Regions from separate parts of the Homo sapiens genome. Here all the other regions are linked to region 2. Evidence: promoter capture Hi-C in human tissues and cell types (Jung and others, 2019). All regions are on one chromosome and are shown on one strand. The core of a region is centred on a gene start or on the middle of the fragment in contact, and the rest is flanking DNA. Distances in the headings are between cores, read along the strand shown.

Region 1 (3,701 bases), core at 658-3,157, 150 kb after region 2:
GACTTCTGTCCGGCAGCCTCTTTGCATACAACTCTCTTTGGATTCCAGTAACCTCCCCTTTCCTGTGCACCTTTTGGCTTGTGAATGTTAATGGCCCCGCTATAGCCCTTGGCTACTGCACTCTGCTCTAAGCTGTACATAGCAATTCATTACTGAGATCTCATCAATGCCTAGTTTGTGCCTAATGGTTACTGTTAGGCCCCTGACTGATGCCATGTGCTATAACCTTCTAGATGTTATTCACAAGTGCAATTTTAACACAGGACTTTTTAACTTGTGTCAACAAGATAGTTCTCAAAACAATTCTCATCAAATACAATTGTACCTTACATTTTCACAATCCAGGCCAACCAAAGAATTAAAGTTTACTCATCCTGATTTCCAGAGTTATAGCTTGCTTTGTTTGTGGATAATCAGGGGCCATTTAATTATGATGTGGACATTATAACCTACAGTGTATTATTACTGTGAATACTCCCAGGTTTACTACTTTATCTCTTTAGACTGTGGAATTAACATGTTGACATTTTCTGGCAATGATTTGTGTTTAACAGAATCTTGGGCAGGTCTAAGTGACAATAATTTATTACTTTGTCCTTGTTCGTGAGCCTGTCAGGCTCAGTGGAGCTTCTTGGAGTGCATAAGAGAATGCATGTGTATCCACTCTAAAGGGAAGACATATCCACATCTGTGCGTTGTGGGTGATGATGCAGAGTGACTCTGTTCATCTATTTATTTATTCAATTAAGAATTTGTGAACATAGGGAAGCTTGCATCCATAGATAGTGAACTGGAGATTTTTTCTAGCTCCAGACCCTTCAATGTAGCTGATGACAGCAATGTGTTTCTCAAACTGAGAAAATCCTGAAGAGCTTGATGGACGATAAGCAGCCACTAATGGGTGAGTTACCTGACAGCCCAACAGGCAAATTGATGAAGAATTTTTGCAAATCTTAACCTCTGAAAGGTTGGTTTGGGTATAGGAAAAACTCCTGCCAGTAAATACAACACACGGACTGAACTGTGATTGGGATGTGGCTTCTTCTTGACATGAAACAGATGATGGAAGCTTCTGGATATGATTTTTGACCACCTAATTAGTGGTGCATGGTTCATTGCTGGCATCTTCTTCCAGAGACCTTGCTCAGAGATGGGATAAGGAAGGAAGGAATTGGAAATTGTATTGGTCTGTTCTCACACTACTATAGAGAACTAGGTGAGACTAGGTAATTTACAAAGAAAGGAGGTTTAATTGACTCACAATTCCACAGGCTATACAGAAAGCATGGTTGGGAGGCCTCAGGAAACTTACAATCACGGCAGAAGGGCAAAGGGAAAGCAAGTACCTTCTTCACATGCGGAGCAGGAGAGAGAACCATGGGGAACAACCAGATGTCATGAGAACTCACTATCATGAGAAACAGCAAAGGGAAAATCCACCCTCATAATCCAGTCACCTTCCAGCAGGTTTCTCCCTCAACATTGGGAATTACATTTTGGCATGAGATTTGGGTGGAGACAGAGCCAAAGCATATTAGAAGTGTCCCAGCCAGAGGCCTGCCTCTGTTTAGAGGCATTCTTTGAGTATGATGGTGTAATAAACAGGAGAAATTTGGAGCCCCAAGACAATTTTCCCCCGGATAAAGAAAGAAATGAGGGCTATTTTGGAAGACAGTGTGGCAGTTTCTTAACATAGTCTTACCATACAATCCAGCAATCACACTCCTTGGTACTTATAAGTTAAAACTCATGTCTACCCAAAACCCGCACATGGATGTTTATAGCAGTTTTATTGATAGTTGCCAAAACTTGGAAGCAACCAAAATGTCCTTCAGTAGGTGAATGGATAAATGTGGGACATCTAGACAATGGCATATTACTCAGCACTAAAAATAAATAAACTATCAGGCCATGAAGAGAAATAGAAGAACATTAAAAGAATCTTACTTGACATCTCACTTCAGGAGAAGCCAATCTGAAAAAGCAACATACTGTATGACTCCAACTATGAGATGTTCTGGAAAAGGCAAAACCCTAGAGACACGAAAACAATCAGTGGTTGGCAGGGGTTAGTGAGGATGAACAGGGAGATTTCTTTCTAGGGGATTTTTAGGGCAGTGAAAGTATTCTCATACTATACTGGGGAGTACATGTCATTATACATTTATCTAAACGTACAGAATGTATAAGATCGAGAGTGAAACCTAAGGTTAATGAAAGACTTTGGATATAATGACATCAGTGTAGGTTCACTGACTGTAACAACTATACTACTCTGGTGGAGATGTTGATAGTGAGGAATACTGTGTGTGTGGAGGGGAGGGCAGGGGGCAGGTGAAGACAGGGGTATATGGGGACTCTATACTTTCTGCTCAATTTTCCTGTGAACCTAAACTTTTCTTTAAAAAAAAGAAACCCAGATTTAAACATGAATTGAGTAGGTGAGGCAGTGTGTCTTTTGGAGTCTGTGGTCACACATAAAGCAGTTCAAACAGCCTCTGTCTAAGCCCTGTGAGCCTTCCACACTGTGTATCACACTAATACAGCAGGTGTCAGACTGTAAAAGAGGAGAGGTCATTTAGCAGTCATGGGGCATACTCCTATCTCCAACTTATTCTCCTGAAGCATTCTATGCCCATGAGAATCTAAGCTTACTGATGGTGGGAAGTTTAATAAACACTCTGAAGCTATTAAAAGGTTTCTCTACGATTTCTAAAAACCATGCCTAAATAACTGCTTGACACACTTGGGGATGTTCTATTTCTAGAGACAAAGGATCCATCATTCATTGGGTCTTTCGGAGAGAAAGAGAATAAGATAGAATTTGTATTCACACCAAAAACCAGATGAAATATTTTGTGCTGTGACTGTACATCTTTGGAATGCTGGGGCTTTGGGGCAATATTTCCTGAAGCCCTTAATCTTTCAGTAGCTGCCAACTGGCCAAGAAAGAAAAAAGCAGGAGGGTACTTTTCTGTATATTACTATTCATAACAGTTTTGGATATTTTCCCCAGAGTAGTTGATGCTCCTTTGACAGATAGTAAATAATTAATCATCATCTCATTCTCGCAGAGCAAAATGACAGGTTTTTTCGATTTCACAGATGGGGGAAATGTGATCACTAATGGAGAGGAGACTGGCTTAGGACATGGGCCTGGGAGAAGCCCCAGAGGCTTTGTTTCATGGTCAGTTTGAACAGATTAGACTACTGGATGCTCACAGTGCTGCTGGCTGCTGCTTCCAAGAAAGATTGACATGTTTGTCTTGACATCTCGCTTCAGGAATGGATGGATACACAGGGAAGCATAAATTTGGGACTAAAGTGTTCTAACATTTCTCATGCTGTATGTTCATTCGTCTCTTCGGGCAATTCAGCACATGCGTTTATCCCATTAATGGCTGGAGAAAAAGTTCTGATTACCTTCCAATTTACATGATTCATATTAGTGGGTTGGAGCAGTAATGGTGATGAATTCTTCTCTGCTTAGGTTGTGCATGTGTTTAGGGCCCTTGAAATCTGAGAATAGCCACACTGTAAGTAGCTGAGCCTCTTTCTCTAGCACCTGCTCAGATAGAATTTGTTTGTAATTTAAACAAACTAATAAACAACATATTCCAAGCTGGAGAATTCTGAAGATGATGATTATGGCAAATTCTACTTCCAATTTTAGCTGTTTGTGGTGCTTTGCCTTGATTTTA
Region 2 (3,746 bases), core at 1,111-3,610:
CAGGAGTTCGAGACCAGCCTGGCTAACATGGTGAAACCCCATCTCTACTAAAAATACAAAAATTAGCTGGGCGTGGTGGTGTGCACCTGTAATCCCAGCTATTCAGGAGGCTGAGGCAGGAGAATCACTTGAACTCAGGAGATGGAGGTTGCAGTGAGCCGAGGTCGTGCCACTGTACTCCAGCCTGGGCAACAGAGTGAGACTTCATCTCAAAAAAAAAAAAAAAGGAACAGCTTTTTGTCAAATTAGGTAACAATTTTTTTCTTTATTTTCTTATTGTTTCATAAGACTTGAAAAACACACTTGCACATCAAACTGTCCCCAAAGGGAGTCAGTCTATAAATGTAATGACATCAGACATTTTTCTTATATTTTGATACCCTGGCATTGTGGAATAAGAAATCCTGACTTTCTACCATGTGGAGTTACTGTCTTGAAATAAAGCACGTGTTTCTTGTCTATATACATGTTTCAGTTTGAGTAAATGTGTATGTGAGTGTATGTATGTGTATTTACCATCTAGATATTTTAATTATTGCTGTATTTGTTTACAAATAGGACAAACTGTTTTTGAAAATTTGAAAAGTTGCAAAGTAACCAAATCTATGTGAATAATAATAGTTTTCGTGTATTGAGCATATGTGACAAGCTCTGTGTTTGGTAGCCCTAATCTCATTTACGTTTCCCAATACAATAGAACTTCTCCCAAAAGCTTACTGTTGCTGTCATTTTACAAATGAGGAAATCTGCTTTTTTTAATTTTTATGTGAAACAGAGTCTTGCTGTGTTGCCCAGGCTGGAGTACAGTGGCATGATCTTGGCTCACTCCGACATCAGCCTCATGGGTTAAAGCCATTCTCATGCCTCAGCCTCCCGGGTAGCTGGGATTACAGATGCACAACACTGTGCCTAGCTATTTTTGTGTGTTTTTTGGTAGATATGGGGTTTCACCAATGTTGGTCAGGCTGGTCTCAAACTCCTGGCCTCAAGTGATCCGCCCTCCTCAGCCTCCCAAAGTGCTGAGATTACAGGCTGAGCCACTGCGCCCAGCTGATGAAATCACCTTTAAAAATGACTAGTTAGGGGCAGAACTAGGATTTGAACTTGGGTCTGTCTGACTTCATTCAGAGCCTGCTTTCAAATTAGACAGCAGCCTCCACCTGTTTAGAGTCAGAGATTTGTATTCCATGGGTGTTATTGAAGCAGACGTATCTCCTGATAATAGCATAGACATTTGGGACAAGGTAAAAGTTTCCCCAATGAGTCTATCAGAAACCACTCTTATCTCTAAAGAAATAAGCCAATTTGTTACTCATTATAGAACTGACTTAAAGAATTCACGAAAAACAGGCTTCCCTCTCTGATGGCTTCATCTTTGTTGAGGCTAAGACTTGAGTGTTCAGTTCAAAACAAAAACGAGAAACAAAATAGCGCAGGCCCTGACCAAAAGGTCCATGTCTAAGGTTGGCACTGACCTTCAGCCCAGGGACATCCCTCCTCTACAGTACTCACTGCCTGTCCAGTCTTTGAGATTCTCACTCTAACCCTGGCAGGACTTCATCTGCTGCCTGGATTCCCAGACTTGGTTGGGGCTCAATAGTGATCCTGACACAAGGAGTGGGAGAATGCATTCACTTACTGGGAGGGCAAGGGGCGCTTGATCCTGACCACAGCCACCTGCACTCCATCCTGCTCGGGCCTCTCCTCAGCCTCTCCTCCATAGCCGCTGTCCTCTGTGTCTACGCTGTCACTCCTCCATGTGGGCTCCTCCTGCTCCATCACTCTCCAGCCCTTGGTTAGCTCAGACACCAGGTTGGCACATTTTCTCCTCCGCGTTGGGGAGCCGTGGCTGTGGAGGATTCTGTCAATGTCATTCTCTGGCTGCCCAGGTTCAAGCACACCAGCATCCCTCTCGTACCTGTGGCTGAGGTGGCTCACGTCCCCTCCTCTCTCATAAGTCTTGCTGACCACCGTTTTGGACACCTCTTTCTTTTTGATGTGAGAAACCTCAGGGGCTTTCTCTGAGCTTTGTCCATCTCCATGTCCTTCTGGCAGGCGGGGTGGCGACTTTGGGGCACTCTGAGCTTTCTGGTGTGAAGTAGGGGGTGTGATTGGTTTAGGAGCTTGAGGTGAGTCCTGGGTCCCTCCCGGCAGCCAGCCTGTAGGCTCCTGGGCCTGCCTGATGCTGTTCTCATTCGCCCACTGCTGCCAACCTCGGGCCAAGCTGATGACCAGGGTGGCTGTGCGTATCTTCCGGAGGGCGCTCTTGGCTGGGCCCTCCCCGCTTTCCTTTTCGCCCGGAGCCATGCTGCCCACCTGTCTTTCTCTGCTGATAGCCTGGACACTGGCTAAAATGAGTGTGGTCCAGTGGAGTGCCTGGGATTTAAATAGAAGCAGGGTGCGGGGTGGGAAGGAGAGCTTAGTGACGATGGAAACTATGTGAAGCATTTCTTGCCAAGATGTGGCGCCTTTGCCCTGATGGTGTTCTTTTTATAAATCATGACAGCTCCAGTTTCATCACGGCAGAGGGACATCTCTGCTGGTAAGGAACAGTGATATGCTCACTCTCTTCTCCAAGTGCCAGAGTGGAAATTACTAGATCAAGTCATGTGCTCAGCCTTACGTTTGTCTGACCTTAATATGGTCCTACCATTTATAGGTGCATACATATTATCCTGGGAACATTATAGGATTGTTCCCACTTAAACCCCAGCAGCCCTCAGTACAGCTCCTAATTAGTTCCACTTTATAGCTAAGTAAAATAAAATCTAACTTCCAGCAGCTAATAAAATATGAGATTCAAATCCATCTCTGTGTAATTCAAAGCGTGTGCCTCCTTTTATTCCAGTTATCAAAGATCCTAAGTTGCCTTTTTCTTTTTCATTCAACTCCATTAGAAATAGACCTTAGAAAATCAACTCATCCAATCTTCATTTTCCAAATGAGAAAATTGAAGCCCAGATACGAGAAAGACCAAAGTCCAGATAGTCAAAGACTAATTACTTTCTAGTCCCAACTTTGAACTATTGTATAGATAACTCATATTAAAATACAAAAAGGGAGTCAAAATTTTGGTCCAATCATTAAAAAATGTTTTTAAAACCTGTATACACATTGGATTTTAGAAATTATTATTGGAGGCCGGGCGAGGTGGCTCACGCCTGTAATCCCAGCACTTTGGGAGGCCGAGGCGGGCAGATCACGAGGTCAGGAGATCGAGACCATCCTGGCTAACATGGTGAAACCCCGTCTCTACTAAAAATACAAAAAATTAGCCGGGCGTAGTGGCGGGCGCCTGTAGTCCCAGCTACTCGGGAGGCTGAGGCAGAAGAATCCTGTGAACCCGGGAGGCGGAGCTTGCAGTGAGCGGAGATCGAGCCACTGCACTCCAGCCTGGGTGACGAGCGAGACTCCGTCTCAAAAAAAAGAAAGAAAGAAAGAAAGAAATTATTGTTGGAATACATATTTTGAAATACTTTGTTTGAAAAGATCATCTAAGGACAGAATTCTAAGGACAGAATAAATGAAAGCTATCGGTAGCTCACTTCTTATCCCCATCCCGCCTACCCTTACCGTTTGGTTTGTGGTTGTTGTTTTGTTTTGTTTTTTGAGATAAGGTCTTGCTGTGTCCCCAGGCTGGAGTGCAGTGGTGTGATGATGGCTCACTGCAGCCTTGACCTCCTGTGCTCAATCAGTCCTCCTGCCTCAGTCTCCCAAGCAGCTGGGAATACAAGCATGAGCCACCA
Region 3 (3,552 bases), core at 50-2,549, 160 kb before region 2:
TACCGTCTATTAACTGTGTGCCATAGCACTTGGCCACAAACCAAGTATACTTTTGAAACCCCTAACTAATCTTTAAATATATTTTCAAACACCTTTTAAAAATGTGTCAGGGGCAAAAATGTCAAAAGCATTATGACTCCTATGGGTGAAGGGATAAGCCACGATGCTTGAAGTCAGGGGTCTTGGCTTTCACAGGGAAAGACAGGATTTCACCATGTTGTCCAAGCTGGTCTCAAACTCCTGACCTCAAGTAATCCACCCGCCTCGGCCTCCCAAAGTGCTGGGATTACAAGTGTGAGCCACCCGTATACAGTATTATTGATATCCTCCAAACCAGATAGGATATTTAGCTTTTTGTAAAATTCTATAGGTATTAAAGCTTGCAGCATTAAAAAGCACTGCTTTTGAACTCTGACAGATGCAGACAATATATCCAGTAACAAAACTGAGTTTCTTTACTAACATATTTTGATAGCGTGACCTTAAACTTGAGACAAAAAGGAGAGAGGAAGAGTTTTATTGAATAAACGTTTCTAGGAAACAGATGCTTAACAAATGGTTGTACAGCTGTTTGCAATAACATGGAAGAAGCCTATCTTTCGATAATTGTGACATAAGTTTTTCTTGTTTGTTCTCCTAGAGTTGTCTGCAAAAAGTTTATGTAATATGCCTGAAGGTTATACTAAGAAGGAAGCATTTCAGAAATGATTGAAGCTGTTTATCTGTGTGCAAAAGCCTGTAAGTGTGTTTGTGTGGGCCTGGGCACGTGTATATGCCTGTGATTCACACATTTCTTTTCACAAAAGATTTGAGGTCACTCAGGATGTCATTCATCCTGGGTAAAAGCCACCTCAGATTACAAGCAGTTAATAGGTCAGATGCTACATAATGCTCTCTTCAACTTAGATTTCTTAAAATCTTACAAGTTGAAGGAGGTGAGAGCCTGGGACTTTTAATTTGCACTGGGGCAAAATCGTTCCTTTGTGCTGAAAACATGTGGCTGACAAGATGCCACTGGGAAAGCCAAGCTTTTTTAGAAGAGTTTGCTGTATAATTCATAAAGATAAAATCTGTAATATTTTATACTTGAAAGCTAAAATTTTTTAAAAAGACATTATCCAAATCAAAACTCTAGCAATTAAAACACACAGATAGGGTATGGTTGACTTTCTGCAATGCTAATCTGGTTTCTGTCTTAGGTCTATTTGTACAGGACAGATATTCTACTTTATTCTCCAACAAGACTCAGCCTGGAGTTGCCTGGTGACCTGCTTTAATTGAGCCAACCACATTCTGTAGGGGAAAAGCCAGACCAGAAATAGCTAGGATTTAATGGTGAGAACAAAGGCATTCCTAAAATCCTCAAATCTGGGCCTAGCATGGTGGCTCACACCTGTAATTCCAGCACTTTTGGAGGCTGAGGCAGGTGGATCACCTGAGGTCGGGAGTTCCAGACTAGCTTGACCAATATGGTGAAACCCCGTCTCTACTAAAAAAAAAAAAAAAAAAAATTAGGCGGGCATGGTGGGCGCCTGTAATCCCAGCTACTCAGGAGGCTGAGGTGGGAGAATCACATGAACCCGGGAGGTGGAGGTTGCAGTGAGCCGAGATGGTGCCACTGCACTTCAGCCTGGGTGACAGAGGGAGACCCTGTCTCCAAAAAAAGAAAAAGAAAAAATAAAATAAAGGAAACACAAAAAACACCTCAAATCTGATATCTCCCACTTCCTACTTAGGTTGAAACAACATATGACTTCTCTAAGTCTCTATTTTTATTTTCAATAAAATGTGGATGATAATAATAAAATGTGGATGATAATCCCACCTCACTATGGGATGCAAAGTGTTTACCAGATGTATTATGTTTCCTATTGCAGTTGTGACAAGTCATGCAAAAGTTAGTGGCTTAAAACAAATTTATTATATTAAGTCCCAGCATTCTGAAGTCCAAAATGCATCTCACTGGGGCTAAAGTCGAGGTGTCAGTAGGTCTGTGCTCCTTTCTAGAGGCCCTGTGGGAGAATCCATTTTCTTGCCTTTTCTAGCTTCTAGAGGCCCCCTACTTTCCCTGGCTCTTGGCCACCTACCATCGTCAAAGCCAGCAATGTCCCAGCAAGTCTTCCTTAGAGCATATCACTATGATACTCTTTATTTATTTATTTATTTATTTATTTATTGAGACAGAGTCCCACTCTGTTGCCCAGGCTGGAGTGCAGTGGTGTAATCTCGGATCACTGCAACCACCACCTCCCAAGTCCAAGTGATTTTCCTTCCTCAGCCTCATTAGTAGCTGAGATTACAGGCATGTGCCATCATGCCTGGCTAATTTTTTTTTTTTTTTTGTATTTTTACTAGAAACAGGGTTTCACCATTTTGGTCAGGCTGGTACCAAACTCCTGATCTCAAATGATCCGCCCGCTTCAGCCTCTCAAAGTGCTAGGATTATAGGCATGAGCCACTGCACCTGGCCACTATGATACTCTTGATATCATATGATAGCTCTTGCTTCCCTCTTCCACTTGGACCTTTTTGATTACAATGGGCCCACCTGGATAATTCAGTATAATTTCCCATCTCACAGTCAGCTGCAACCTTAATTCCATCTGCGTCCTTAATTTCTCTTTGCCAAGTAAGGTAGCATTCACAGATTCCAGGGATCAATATAAGAATATTTTTTAGGGGGTCATCATTCTGCCTACCTTGTTGGAGTACCTGCTACTAAATAAAAACACCAGGAATGGTAGTTTTTGCTGTTCTTAACCCAAAGGAAGAAAGAGCCCTTCTCTGAATGGTTTTTGTTGTTTAGTTAAGAAAATGCCAACTGACCAATGTCCCAGAAACCAAATGGGTGTAGAGCCCTAGCATGCTTCATTTCAACACCTTTCACAAACAGTAGTTTTGGCACTTTGCCTACCAAGCTGAAAAACAAAGAGCAGGGTTGTTATGTCTGACCTAAATACACATGGTCTGTAACTTTCCTCTTCTCTCTCCATACCTCTTCCCTTCTTGAAGATATTTTACTGCTGGGGTATCAACTTATTTACATGTAGCTGACTCCTCAGAAGCGGAACTTGAATGCCAGCCATTCTGTCGAGCTTAAAGCACCACAATCCAGCTGTGAGCTAGGCAACTTTCCCCTTATATTTTGTGTGCCTCTGAAAACATCTCCAGAATTCAAATGACCATTTTTGACATAAGTTATCCCTTCCTCCCCTCTGATTGCAAGGGCAGCATCACTCTTTCTGCCATGCATAAGTCAACATTTGGAGTCAATAGCCCTCTTGTACTAACACTTTCACAGTCCTCTCAAGTAGCCTTCCTCACTGTATTATCCAAGTTCAAGGATTGCTTACACTTACCTGGACTACAGGCAAAGCCTCAGAACCATCTCCTGCCTTCCTTCACTGATTTGTGTCATCACTCCCTGGAGGTCTCAGGTCCCTCCTTCTCATCTCTTCTTCCTTAAATCGATCCTTCTGCCTTAAATCAGCCCTTCTGCTTAGCATTAAATAAGTCTTTGTCAGCATGCCAAAGGGTGCAGGGAACTATTTT

What was found. Contacts are between HindIII fragments. The study calls those that stand out against the background at their distance.
Region 1: a contact is called between a fragment that was not itself captured here and the fragment with the promoter of ABRA in region 2, in 1 of the 25 tissues and cell types used here (hippocampus).
Region 3: a contact is called between a fragment that was not itself captured here and the fragment with the promoter of ABRA in region 2, in 1 of the 25 tissues and cell types used here (hippocampus).

What each region holds. Positions count from the first base shown.
Region 1 is chr8:106,922,040-106,925,740 of GRCh38, forward strand. No RefSeq gene overlaps it. Among named protein-coding and RNA genes, the nearest start is that of ABRA, 150 kb to the left of the region's middle. The HindIII fragment of the contact is 3,365 bases long and covers 226-3,590 here.
Region 2 is chr8:106,767,884-106,771,629 of GRCh38, forward strand. ABRA (actin binding Rho activating protein) reads right to left here and starts at 2,361. Exons shown (of 2, transcript NM_139166.5): 1 at 1,640-2,361. The coding sequence starts at 2,307. The HindIII fragment of the contact is 12,258 bases long and covers 1-3,746 here.
Region 3 is chr8:106,604,142-106,607,693 of GRCh38, forward strand. The region is part of intron 3 of OXR1 (oxidation resistance 1); the gene reads left to right. The region is part of intron 1 of OXR1-AS1 (OXR1 antisense RNA 1); the gene reads right to left. Among named protein-coding and RNA genes, the nearest start is that of OXR1-AS1, 52 kb to the right of the region's middle. The HindIII fragment of the contact is 6,770 bases long and covers 1-3,552 here.